Regions from separate parts of the Homo sapiens genome. Here all the other regions are linked to region 3. Evidence: promoter capture Hi-C in human tissues and cell types (Jung and others, 2019). All regions are on one chromosome and are shown on one strand. The core of a region is centred on a gene start or on the middle of the fragment in contact, and the rest is flanking DNA. Distances in the headings are between cores, read along the strand shown.

Region 1 (4,030 bases), core at 666-3,165, 580 kb before region 3:
AATTCACAACTCAAAAGAAACGAGTGCAAGTGGGTCTGCCCATTAGATGATAAAGAAATTATGGGGAAATTGGCAAATTTGACAAGAAAGATTAAAAACTTTTTGCTTCTTTACTGTTTATTGGAAGGTGATCCTAGAAAAGTTTGTCACAGCTTTCTGAAATCTGAGAACATTTCCAGAAAAATGTAAGTTGATTTAAATTATTGGTTATAAATTTTTCCTTGAATAAACTTGGCAGAAAAGTTAATATTTTGTATTATTGTAAGTTTTTTTCCCAATGGAGAAACTGTAGAAACTTTTTTAATATTCTAAGTCAAAAGACAAAATATTTTGTTACTATTATTACATATTTCAGTCTGTCTTCACAGTCAGCTTTGTCCAGTGAAAGAATCTGTGACTGGAAATACTTAGGTTCTCAATTAAAAGAATACAAAATGTTATTTGACCCCGACCCCAAAAAATGCACACGCAAATACTAGAATGGAAAAAAAAAAGCCTGAAACAACACAAATGATTAACAGTATTCAACAAATAAACAAGCAAATACAAATATACAATATCGCTGTGATATTCTTAAGAAAACAGTATTAGATGTGCCATACTTAGGCAAGCTTGTGTGGAACAGCAACAGTGCGATATTCATAGAAAACAATGGAAATGTTCTAGTCTAGTAGAAAAAATAACTTTCAAATGTGATGCCAAAATAGCCAAGCATATAACATAGATAAAAATGAATTTTAGGCCCAGCGCAGTGGCTCAGGCCTGTAATCCCAGCACTTTGGGAGGCCATGGCGAGCGGAAGACCTGAGGTCAGGAGCTCGAGACCAGCCTGGCCAACATGGCAAAACCCCGTCTCCACTAAAAATACAAAAAAATTAGCTGGGCATGGTGGCATGCACCTGTAGTCCCAGCTACTAGGGAGGCTGAGGCAGGAGGATTGCTTGAACCTGGGAAGCAGAGGTTGCAGTGAGCCGAGACTGAGCCACTGCACTACAACCTGGGCAACAGAGCTCTCGAGACCCTGTCTCAAAAAAAAACAAAATTGAATTTTAAAAGATCATATTTCTTTAAATGGAGAATTCAAAATACTATTAAATGTGATAAAAGATATTAGAGATACAATTTTTAAATTAATAGTAACTAATTTACGTAAATTATGTTAGGACAAAATCATATTGAGCAACTAATATTTATCTTCTGATGTACCATCATCTGATGATGGTGGGCAGGCCACACTTGCATCTGATAGTTCATCAGATGATAAAAATTGAAGTCAAAATTGTGTATGTTATTGATTTTATACCTATTGTAAAAAGTAGAATTGAAAATACAATTTTGAATTTTAGACATTGATTTAAAAGAATAATGATGGCAAGCTAATGATAATGGCAGTTGGTAAGGAACAAGCATTTATTATGAGGCATGTGTGATACATAGTTTGAATTTCTTATTAAGGGACATGTTCTCAGCTGTGTCAAATGGGTGATTGCATCTTCAGAACAATTAAACAACTACATAGGATATTTTCTGTATCTGTCCAAAGATGAAACAACTTGAAAAAGCTGTTATATGTTTGTCACTAAAACACTTTTGGACACACAAAGGGAATGCTGACTAAAAGCTATTAAAACAACAAAATTTTATTTACACCAGATAACAAGATGCACTGGAAGAGTATGAGAAATAAAAGATAATCCTTAAATAAAAAGAATCATGGCCGGGTACGGTGGCTCACACCTGTAATCCCAGCACTTTGGGAGGCCGAGGCGGGCGGATCACGAGGTCAGGAGTTTGAGACCAGCCTGGCCAGTATGGTGACACCCCGTCGCTACTAAAAATACAAAAATTAGCCGGGTGTGGTGGTGGGCGCCTGTAGTTCCAGCTACTCGGAAGCCTGAAGCAGGCGACTCGCTTGAACCTGGGAGGCAGAGGTTGCAGTGAGCCGAGATCGTGCCACTGCACTCCAGCCTGGGTGACACGGCAAGACTCCATCTCAAAAAAAAAAAAAAAAAAAAAAAAAAAAAGGATCATGATCTTTTTTTAGAATTTTAATTTTAGGTTTGAGCATACATGTGAAGGTTTGTTACATAGATAAACGTGTCACAGGGGTTGGTTGTACATATTACTACATCACCCAGATATTAAGCTCGGCACCCAACAGTTATCTTTTCTGCCCCTTCCCCTCCCCACTCCCCCCACCCCCAAGTAGACCCCAGTGCCTGTTGTTTCCTTCTTTGTGTTCATGAGTTCTCATCATTTAGTTCCGACTTATAAGTGAGAACATGTGGTATTTGGTTTTCTGTTCCTGCATTACTTTGCTAAGGAAGGAATCATGATCTTTGGCAGAAAATTATTTCTGAATCTGCACTATCTATGGTTATTTGGTAGAAACTGTTGTTTTTAATGATGTTAGCAAAAGCTTGCAGAAATTCTAAAAACTGGAACCAAATAATGAGTTTGGCTGTTTTGCCTTTTTACGATTAAATTTTTTTATAGAGAGAAAATAGTTACTCTAAATTGAAATAAACTGCATGTAAAATATGTAACAAATGTGACATTTCTATAAAATATGAGAAAATCAGAACAAGTAAACAAAAATGTTTGCATCACTATAAAAGAGAATATGCACATACAAATAATCCCCAAACTAATATCTGTTGAGATCACTTTAGGTTTATTAAAAATAAAAAAAAACTTACCAAAATATTTTCTGGATCTGGATATTGTTTTTAGAGAAGGTAAAAATTGCAATGTAAGTGATAGATTTATATTATGAAATTAAAATTTTTTGTAGTATTTTCTATCGTAACAACAATTTAAGACCCCATGATAGTATTTGAACTTTATATGTAAAATCCATTGCCAATTTCTGAATGTAAATGTTACAATAACTTTGACAATTTCAGTTGCTATTGACTTAACAGCAAGTTTTCTCCATGATGAAATTAATTTAAAAATAAGAATACAATGGCTAAGAAAGGGTGTTGAATTTGGCATTACTATCTTTGAACATAAATTATGTAAAAATCCTGATTGGAAGAACGTAACTGTAATTTTGCTAAAATGAAGACAAGAAAAAATAATTTTTATATAGCAAATATATAGTCATGTATGAATTATGTATGCCTTTGTTATTACGCATCCAAACATCAGCCAAACAACAGAACTGCCAGTTATGTACAGAAAATTAAAGATCAGTCAACTTTAAAATTTGCTGATATTCAGTCATATGAAAAATAGTTCTCAACTTTGTTTCAAAAGTAGAAGGATACACCACATTTTTTTTTAACAGTCTGTTGGCTTGTTTGTTAACAAAAAAGTTAACAAACTCTAGGCCCACAAATTTAGGGGTAGGTCTGACTGAGCATATGTTAATTTTATAATTAGTGCTTGTAAGAACTGCTGTTTAGTTAATGTTTATTATATGTTGGGCACTGAGCAAAGTACTTTTTATACAGTAGCTCACGGCACCTGTATGAGTTAATTTCTCATACTGAGCTAAGGAAACTGAGGCATAGAAGGGCAAAGTTACTTGCACAAACATTGTCAAAGCAGAATCAAGTGGACATTTACTATACCTACTCGGAAATGGGACTGCCTGTTAAAGGCTGACAGATCACTAGGAAATGTTCTTTATAAATGCAATGCCTCTGCTGGATAATATCTGTCCCTCTACCCCAATTCATGCAGCCTGAAACTCCACCATTATGCATTGATTCCTCTTGGCTTTAAAGCCTTTTCAGTCTCCAAAAGAAACCAGTGGAAATGCAAATGCCCCCAGGGGATATAAGACGACAGCATATTAAGCCAGTGTTACTTCTCCTGTATTTTCCACCAAAGTAACCCATCAAACCAAGAGTGAATTCTTAACCCCCAGGAGTCTGAGGACTCAGCCCAAAAGATTTTGATCAATTTCTTTTGAGTCTTGTGCTGTCTATTTAAAATCATGCCTATATGCTTTTCCATACTACATATATTTTTAACATACAAATGTTAGCTCTTCAAATAAAAACGATGCTTCACAATAGAC
Region 2 (4,294 bases), core at 1,591-4,090, 590 kb after region 3:
CCTTTTCATTCTGTTAACCCTGACTATACCTTCATAAATAGCACTTTTATTAAAGTGTCTTCATTTGAGTCTTCTGGGGTGAAATCTGTTTTCTGCTGGCACGCTTACTGATAGAGAATATTCTAAGCACATTTGGCAAACCGATGTAGGACAGAAAGGCATTTCCAACTCTTTTGTGGTTTTGTTGTTGTGTTTGTTCAATTGAGCATAAAAATTACACAGTGAAACAGGTTGAAATGTCTTTTAGTTCTTACTCTGAGTTCCTACTTTGTATTTTCTTTGGACTGTTCTTAATACATTTTCAAGAAAGTATAATTTTCTGTTAAATGCACAATTATTTACAATTTTGTTATATTTGTGTGATTTTATAAAAAGGTCTCTTAGCCACTCTTCTCTTTCTAAAGAATTATACTTCAAATAGAATAATGAAAATAAATGGGAAATGGTATTTAAATATGTATATAAATATTTGTTATATAGCTGTCTCTCAAGAACACATATGGTGGTTAAATCATACCACTAAAAGCTATAAATCACTTTATTAGCCTAGACATTTGTTTTATTTACTGTTTCCTGAAACAAGTATGCTTTTAGGGTGGGGAATGATAAACATTTTACATTTCTGGCATTTGCACTGGAATTATCGGATTAGGGTTTAACCTACTGCCCACAGGTTATTTAGTTGTTCTTTTCTATGATGCAAGCTGGGATTAGGTCAAATGCATCCTATTGGTTACCTTTTTCTCTCATAGACACATCTGTAACTGTTACATTGATTAACTTGATTGTAGCTGTCACTTTGAACATTTTTAGAAAATTCATATGTGAAAACTGAAGTCTGCAGATTACTTAGTGGAGGATTACTTGGATTGCCTTGTAGCACTATCCGGATAACCTTGGACAGACCCTTTAATATCTCTGAATTACAGTATCCCCTCCTGTGGGATGGGAATGATAATACCTTCCTACACAGAAAACTCATTGTGGAGCATGATGCAAATGTAAGGGGAGAGCCATTTAACTCTATATTTAGAAAGATTCATTTGATAGTGTTATTTAATGTCTTATGGTCCCTGGAGACTCAAAACACTCTGAAAAATATTCCAGCTAGTTTCAGTTGGAAGTTCTAACCTTAGAAAGTAAACCATGTGGAAAGTGTTTCATGGTTTATATTTGAATAAATTTTTTGCTTGAAAGCTCATAAAATTTCATATATGTATATATATATTCACACACACATATAAAATCATTTTTGGTATCCTTCTACTTTTCCCTTCCTTTGGTAACAAATAATATTTTTTGCAAAATGAACAATGCTTCAAATTGAGCATTTTTCTTTCATGTCTAGGATCTTCAAGGGGAAAACTTGGGAAATATATTCCTGTTTGGTATGACTTTCCTGTAGACATTTCAGAACTGCAGAACCATTATGGGGAACTTTTTTTTTTATGCAATAGCATTTCTTTTGAATAGTTCTCTTTTTCCCAAAGAATGTTTCCTCCTGGATTTTCTCAGCTGGTACTTTGGTATTTATGGCCTAAGTGATTTAGTAAATGTAAGAAAACGATGTTCACTGGTCAGTGTAAGAGGGAATATGAGGAATCTGTGTCTGTAAGCTGAATAAATACATTTAGCTGTATTGAAATTAACCTCTGTAGCCTGGAGCCAGAATGTGGAATATAAAGAAACAAAGATGTGGGATAATATACATTCTAGATAGATAAATGACCCATGGACTCATATATTATCAAGGTGTAGATTTTCTACAGTGGATTTCAAGTCCTGAACTTTTTACGCCTCTCCATTCTTCATATTTTGAAATAAAATTCTCTCTTTTTAAAAAACAGATAATATGTGATAAAGGAATAACAATAGGCAATTCTATTAGTCAAGAAAGGCTGAGTGCTATGACAAGAGCAACGAAACATGTAAAATGCAATGCGATATACATTTATTTCTCATTGGTGAATGATGGTTGCATGTGGTTGGTGGTGGTGGAGCTCTCTTCCATAGTCATTTATACATCCAGGCTCCTTTTATCTTGTGATTCCACCTGCTCTAGGTCCTTTGGGTGATCTCTATTCTGCTGGTTGACAAGGAAATGAATGAGAATCGTGTCTTCAAGGTATTTATGAGCCAGACCAGTAAATGACACACATCAATTTATCTTACAGTCTAGTCTCATAGATGTATCTAATTGCAAGAAAGGCTGAAAAATTAATTTAGTTGTGTTCCTAGAAACAAGAGAACAAGTAGCATTTATTGAATGCTTACCTGTGCCAGGTACTGTTCTGTGTCCACTTTATGGGTCAAATCACTTAATTCTGAGAACAACCCTAAGAGATTGATACTTTAATTATATCATATTCCAGATGAGGACGCTGAAGCCCACCCAAGGAAGCTCTTTAACCTGTTTGAGTCATAGAGCTAGTGAACAGCTGAGCCAGCATAGGAGATCAAATAATCTGGCTTGAGAAACCAGCTTCGAAATCATTACACATTCTGCTTTTATACACATAAACAAGGTTTATGGAATCACTATAATATTCACTAAATGTAGGAAACAAACATGTTAATTTTTTTATATGTCATCTAAGCTTATAAGATCATAACACCTAGGATTGACACAGTGGTGGTATAAAGCAGTTATAGTATGAAATTCAGTCATAAGCAACAGGAGCCTTTAAAATGGGATTTGCCCTTTGGCCCAGCAATTCTACCGGTTTTTAAAGAAACCCTCAAATAAATACAAGAAGTTGTACGTAGAAAGACATTTATTATAATGTTGTTTAAAATAGCAAAAATGTGGAAACAACCCAGCTGCCTGATAATAAGTATAGTTTCAATAAATGTTGAGATATACACAATGGATTATTTTGTAACTACTAAAGATGAGGATGCACATGGATACTTATAAAGTATGTTTATTTACTATTTATAAATATGTAAATTACAAAATATTGTATATATCAGAAAAAAATATTTTTGTTTAAAAAGTGTATATTTGTATAGGAAAACCTTGGAAAAGACAGAAACAAAATGTTAATATTGGTTAATGCTAGGTGGTGAAATCTTTGGTTTTAAAAACTTTGCTTATTTTTATTTTCTAATACTTCTATAAAAGCATGCTTTCCCTGTCTGATGAAAAAAAGAAAGCAATAAAGCAGAAAGTGAAAATTAAAAAGAAAATACATTTGCTCAATGTAGAGAGTGCCAGTGAGATGTACCCATTTATAAATGCCATAAAACGTCAGACCATTATGAGGAACCATCTATTAAATTCATTTTCATGCATTCAATTATCATATGCTCATTCATCCTATTATCAACAAGAAAGACGCAACCTTGTTGTCAAAGAACTTATTTAGGAGGGAGAAAAGAGGCAAAAGATGTACCAAATTCTGAGAAAACAGCATTCAACGATATGCTTTGCTGGGGGCCATATTTTTATATGAAATAATTTAGCACAAATTGTGGCTGCTATCAATCACATTTAGTTGTCATTATCATCCTTAAGTTATTCAGTGGCAGAAAAACCATTCTCATTTTGCCAGGACCTTACCTCAAATGTCTGAGAATATTCTAAAGAAGCTTCTATAAGGGTCCATTCATCAGATGAGAGGGCCACTTGAGTAGGGCAGAAGCTTATAGAATTTCTTAAGGACTCTTATGGGTTAAAAATCTTCTGAAATATCTCCATGGATAACTTACTAGGAGGCCTTGAATTTCTTTTTAAATAATGGCATTTCCATTTTTCATGGTGTATATTTGAGCTTCTGGAGAGCGAGGCATCAATTTGATTTAATTCAATTCAACAGACATTTATTGTAATTGCATTATATTTATTATAATTGCATTATAGCATTTACCATCACTTCAGGAGGAATCTCAGTAATTAGAGACCTCAGCAGTCAGTCATTTTTGCCTTTTGTCTAAGTGTAGGATACCTCTGGGCCTCTGCTGACCCAGAATACTGTGCTGTAATTGTCTGTTTATCCCAGGAGACAATATCCTTGAGACCAGAGACTATGTCCTCTCATCACTCCAAGTGATTCCTGGAACATGGTAGGCACTCATAATTACCTTCTGGGAAAATCCACTCCTCATTCTTTTGCCCCTTTTTAACATTTAATTGCTCATTAGTATTTCTTTCAAAGGAATTGCTAGAGAATAGCTAGACAAGAGGAGGAATCATTGGTCAGTCATAAACATTTAATGAGATAGCTGAAGAAATTACAGTTCGGATTAGAAGATTATAGCACAATTTTAAAATTAGTACTTGCCCTCGTAGAGC
Region 3 (4,212 bases), core at 1,713-4,212:
AGGGCCCAGGACCTACGCTAGCAGGGGGTTTGTATGTCACATCTGGTCTCCAGCTACTCTGGTAAAAGAGGCAGATACAAAATACCATAAACTCTGCAGGTAATTGATCTCTCCTTTGTGGACCTGTGTAGTCTCCCTGGAAGACTGCTTTTTGTTTTCCTGTAAGGAGGGATTGGTGATATAGTGGAGTGGCTTTTAAACATGCATCCAACACATGTAAGAGCATTTGCATCTCATTCTCCTCTCCACTCCTCCCTCTGTATTTCAAGGAAATGCTGCTTACAGGCTTAGTAAGGTGGGGATTAAGAATTAATTATTGGATTTAGCAATTTGGTCATTGGTGACCTTGACAACAGTCGTTTCGGTGAAGTGGTGGGGGCAAATACTGATTGGAATGGGCTCAAGAGATTACAGGCAGCTCTTTTGAGGAGCATCAGTGGACCAGAGACTCGGAATACAGCTGGAGGAAGATAGGGGGTTAAGAGTTGTTTTTTTTGTATTGTTTCTGTTTTTGTTTTTAGATGGAAGAAATTACAGTGTACTTGTTGTGCTGGCTGGAATGGCCCAGTAGAGACAAAAGCTGATGATACAGAAAGGAAGGGGGATATTGCTAGAGAGATGGCCTTGAACAAGAAAGAGGACAGGAACTTTTAGTGATGTACTAGAGCTGGCCATTCAACACAGCTATTATTAAAGTATATAAATTTACAATCACATATAAAAATTAATAAATATTTATTTATTTGAGATGGGTCTCACTCTGTGGCCCAGGCTGGAGTGCATGGCACGATCATAGTTCACTACAGCCTTGAACTTCCGGATTTAATAGAGCCTCTGGCCTTAGCCTCTCAAGTAGCTAGGACTACAGGTGTGCACTGCCACACCTGGCTAATTTTTTATTTTATTTTTTGTAGAGATGGGGTTTCACTATGTTGCCTACACTGGCCTCAAACTCTTGGCCTCAAGTGATCCTTCTGCCTTGGCCTCCCAAAGTGCTGAGGTTACAGGCATGAACCATAGGAGCCTGGCCAAAGAGTAATAAACATTGAAAACTCATCCCTTCCTGCTACATTTTCCATTATTTATGTTTTTGGTTCTTTATGGCTGTCGTATGTGGGTGGTGGAAATACTATGTGATGGTGTGCTTCTGTGCTTCCCTCCCCAACTCCCACTCCTCACTCAACTCCATGTTGCTAAATCCCCAACTTGTGTTTAGTGACATCGAGTTGGCATCTTTAAACATGGTAGGAGTATTTACACCACAGGAATCAGCAACCTTTGGAAATCAGGGCCTTGCTTGATTTATACTTTAAAGGACAGCTATTTGTTAAACATTTTTCAGTTCACCTCAGGATTCAGTGGACAAATGGAGACACTGGTGCTAAAACAAAGTGCTGACAGTTCACCCACAGGAACAAGAGTGAAGGCAAGGCATTTGGTCTGGTGGGTAGAGAGGTGGCAGAGCGATGTGACCTATTGACTAAGTGAAAATGGAAGTAAGGTAATGACTGGAGTATAAGGCTGGGAACAAAGGTGTCAGAGGTGTGGAGGAATGCGGGAGAGTAAGTGGATTAGAGAAATTCAGTACTCTCTTTTTTTTTTTTTTTTGAGATGGAGTCTTGCTCTTGTCGCCTAGGCTGGAGTGCAATGGGCGAGCTCTGCTCACTGCAACCTCCGTCTCCCGGGTTCAAGCGATTCTCCTGCCTCAGCCTCCGGAGTAGCTGGGACTACAGGCGCCCGCCATCACGCCTGGCTAATTTTTGTATTTTTAGTAGGGACAGGGTTTCACCATGTTGGCCAGGCTGGTCTGGAACTCCGGACCTCAGGCGATCCGCCCACCTTGGCCTCCCAAAGTGCTGGGATTACAGGCGTGAGTCACCGCACCCAGCCAGAAATACAGTACTTTCATAGTGTATTTGTCTGGCACCATTAAAAGGCGCCATAGGGTTAGTGGTTATGAACTTAAAAGATGCACAGTGGGTGTGTATTTTCCTTCAGCCCCTTCTGGTGGCTTGGGTAGAGACAGTCAGAGGAGACCTAGATTTACACAAGGCTAGGGTTTTGCCAGACCAGTGTGACTGCGTATGGCAGGGGCGAGCGAGATGGCAAAATCGTAAAAGTCATCACCTCAGAGACCCTCCATAATCACCCTCACTAAAATCATGTCCGCGCCCGTGTCACTTTAACCGATTATTGTTTTTATTTTCCCAGCTTGTTGATTGGGTGTGAAATCAGCCGGCTCATCAGCAGAGCTGGTGTTTCCTCCCTGCGGAATCCGCAGTGCCCACTACAGCGCTGGGGCATAGGAGGCCTCAGAACCGTGCTGAATACACGGATTAACGTGCTGGTTCTCCTAACATCTGTTGGTTGCAGTAAATAATAATACTCGCAACTCTTTTGTATCCTCTAGTTCCTTGCTCCGTGGTGTTTAACCTTAGCGAGCAAAGGAACTTACCTGCAGGTTTTGGTGCACTAAAACGCGGTTCTTATTCCCGAGGCAATCTTTACCTTACACGAGGCCCAAACCCAAGCCTCAGAGGCAGCTGCCTGGTGGCATGAGTAATGCTGGCCTTTGTCACACCAGGCCTTCCTTATTAATACTTTTTTCCCGTGCTGCCAACCACGGCTTATTCTGTGACTCCAGGCGGTGATACCATAAACGCATAAGCCCAAGGTCCAGGTTTCCTGGGGCGGGGCGTGATGGCTCCCAGGCAGAGAAGCTTTTCTCGGCAGGCGCGGCCGCGGGAGGGCACCAGGGCCGCTCTGGCGCCGCCAGCGTGGAGACCGCGGGGCCCCGGGTGCTCTGGGAGCGCTCCAGCGCCTCCCGCGCTCTGTAACCCCAGGCCCCGGACTCTGGCAGTAGGGGCGTGGGCGTGGCCGACTGCGCGTTTCTCCGAGTGGCCAATAAAGTTTCGAAAGTTTGAAAAGCGGAGGAAAAAGGCCACGCCCATGTGGCTGTCCGAGTGTGGGCGCCTCCGGGCCTCTGCGGAGCCCTGGGCAGCTCTGAGCTCGCGGAGGCGTGGCCGGTGCGCGGGGCCCGCGGCGCGCGGGGATGGGGGTCTCGGTGGATGTGCACCAGGTGTACAAGTACCCCTTCGAGCAGGTGGTCGCCAGCTTTCTCCGAAAGGTACCGCCCCGCTTCCACCTTCCGTATCCCGCGCTGCCTCCGCTGCTTGCCCCTCTCTCCTCTCCTTCATCCACGCGGAAGCTGGCACCGCCAGTGTCTCTTTCCAGCTGCGGGCTTTGCTTCAGGGATGTGTGGGTCGAGAGGGATTTCCTCGAAGACTCCCTTTACAGGGAGCGGGAAAAGGGGCCGTGCTTGGCATCACGTTCACACCTGCCCCAGCTGAAAGAAGAGGCTTTCCTTTTAGGAAGAGCCTCCGGGAATCCCAGCTCGTGAGCTCCGTGGAGTTGCAGATGACCGACGTGTGGAGCTTTCCGGTTCATCACTGACCCCTTAAAAGCGAGGGGAGGCCATTGGGCAGTCATCCTGGTTTACTCAGCATGATGGTTCTGCTGCCCCATCCGCTGCTCCTTATTAAACAGCTGTGGGACATCGTGCAGGTTGCTTACTCTCTTTGTGCCTTAGTTTGCTAATCTGTAAAATGGGGAAAATAATAGTACCGACTCATAGAGTTGTTGTGAGGATCCAAATGAGGTAACTTGTGTAAAGTGCTTAGCACAGTTGTGACCTAAATGAAGAAACTGAGGCAAAATCAATATAAAAAGAGAGTTCATTCGAGCCAAGTTTGAGGGCTGCATCCTGGGAGTGAAGGTGCCCTGAGTATACATTCTGATGAGCAGAAGTCGAAAGTGGGTTTTTAAAGGAGAATAAGAAGCACTTCCTAAGTTGTTTACCAAGAATTTATATTAAAATAACATAAACTATTGATTGTCTGTACATTGTTCTTTGTATCACAAATTCCAGGAACTTGAAGATAATGGGTAAGGCAGCTGGTCAGGAACAAAATGCCTTTAACCAGTTGCTCCCAGGAATGGGTTGGGTGAGGAGGGGACCACTAAAGTCCTATACTCTTGTCTCTCTGGGCTTGATTGATTTTGCATATTTCACTGTAACTCACACAATCTGCTCTGAGCTATTTTTCTTTTTCTCACTGCTACTGATGTTTAGTTAGGGCTCTAAAATGTTATTGTTGTTTGTATTACTACAACCGATTTCAATACAGATAATGAACTCTTCCTCAATACTGA

The links. Contacts are between HindIII fragments. The study calls those that stand out against the background at their distance.
Region 1: a contact is called between a fragment that was not itself captured here and the fragment with the promoter of PRELID2 in region 3, in 1 of the 25 tissues and cell types used here (mesenchymal stem cells).
Region 2: a fragment that was not itself captured here is called in contact with the fragment with the promoter of PRELID2 in region 3 in 1 of the 25 tissues and cell types used here (dorsolateral prefrontal cortex).

What each region holds. Positions count from the first base shown.
Region 1 is chr5:146,410,605-146,414,634 of GRCh38, reverse strand. No RefSeq gene overlaps it. Among named protein-coding and RNA genes, the nearest start is that of TCERG1, 35 kb to the left of the region's middle. The HindIII fragment of the contact is 4,106 bases long and covers 1-3,968 here.
Region 2 is chr5:145,239,100-145,243,393 of GRCh38, reverse strand. It overlaps a transcript of PRELID2 not described here. Among named protein-coding and RNA genes, the nearest start is that of PRELID2, 590 kb to the left of the region's middle. The HindIII fragment of the contact is 4,775 bases long and covers 453-4,294 here.
Region 3 is chr5:145,834,092-145,838,303 of GRCh38, reverse strand. PRELID2 (PRELI domain containing 2) reads left to right here and starts at 2,962. Exons shown (of 7, transcript NM_205846.3): 1 at 2,962-3,127. The coding sequence starts at 3,053. RefSeq lists a silencer at 2,651-2,770. The HindIII fragment of the contact is 8,273 bases long and covers 1-4,212 here.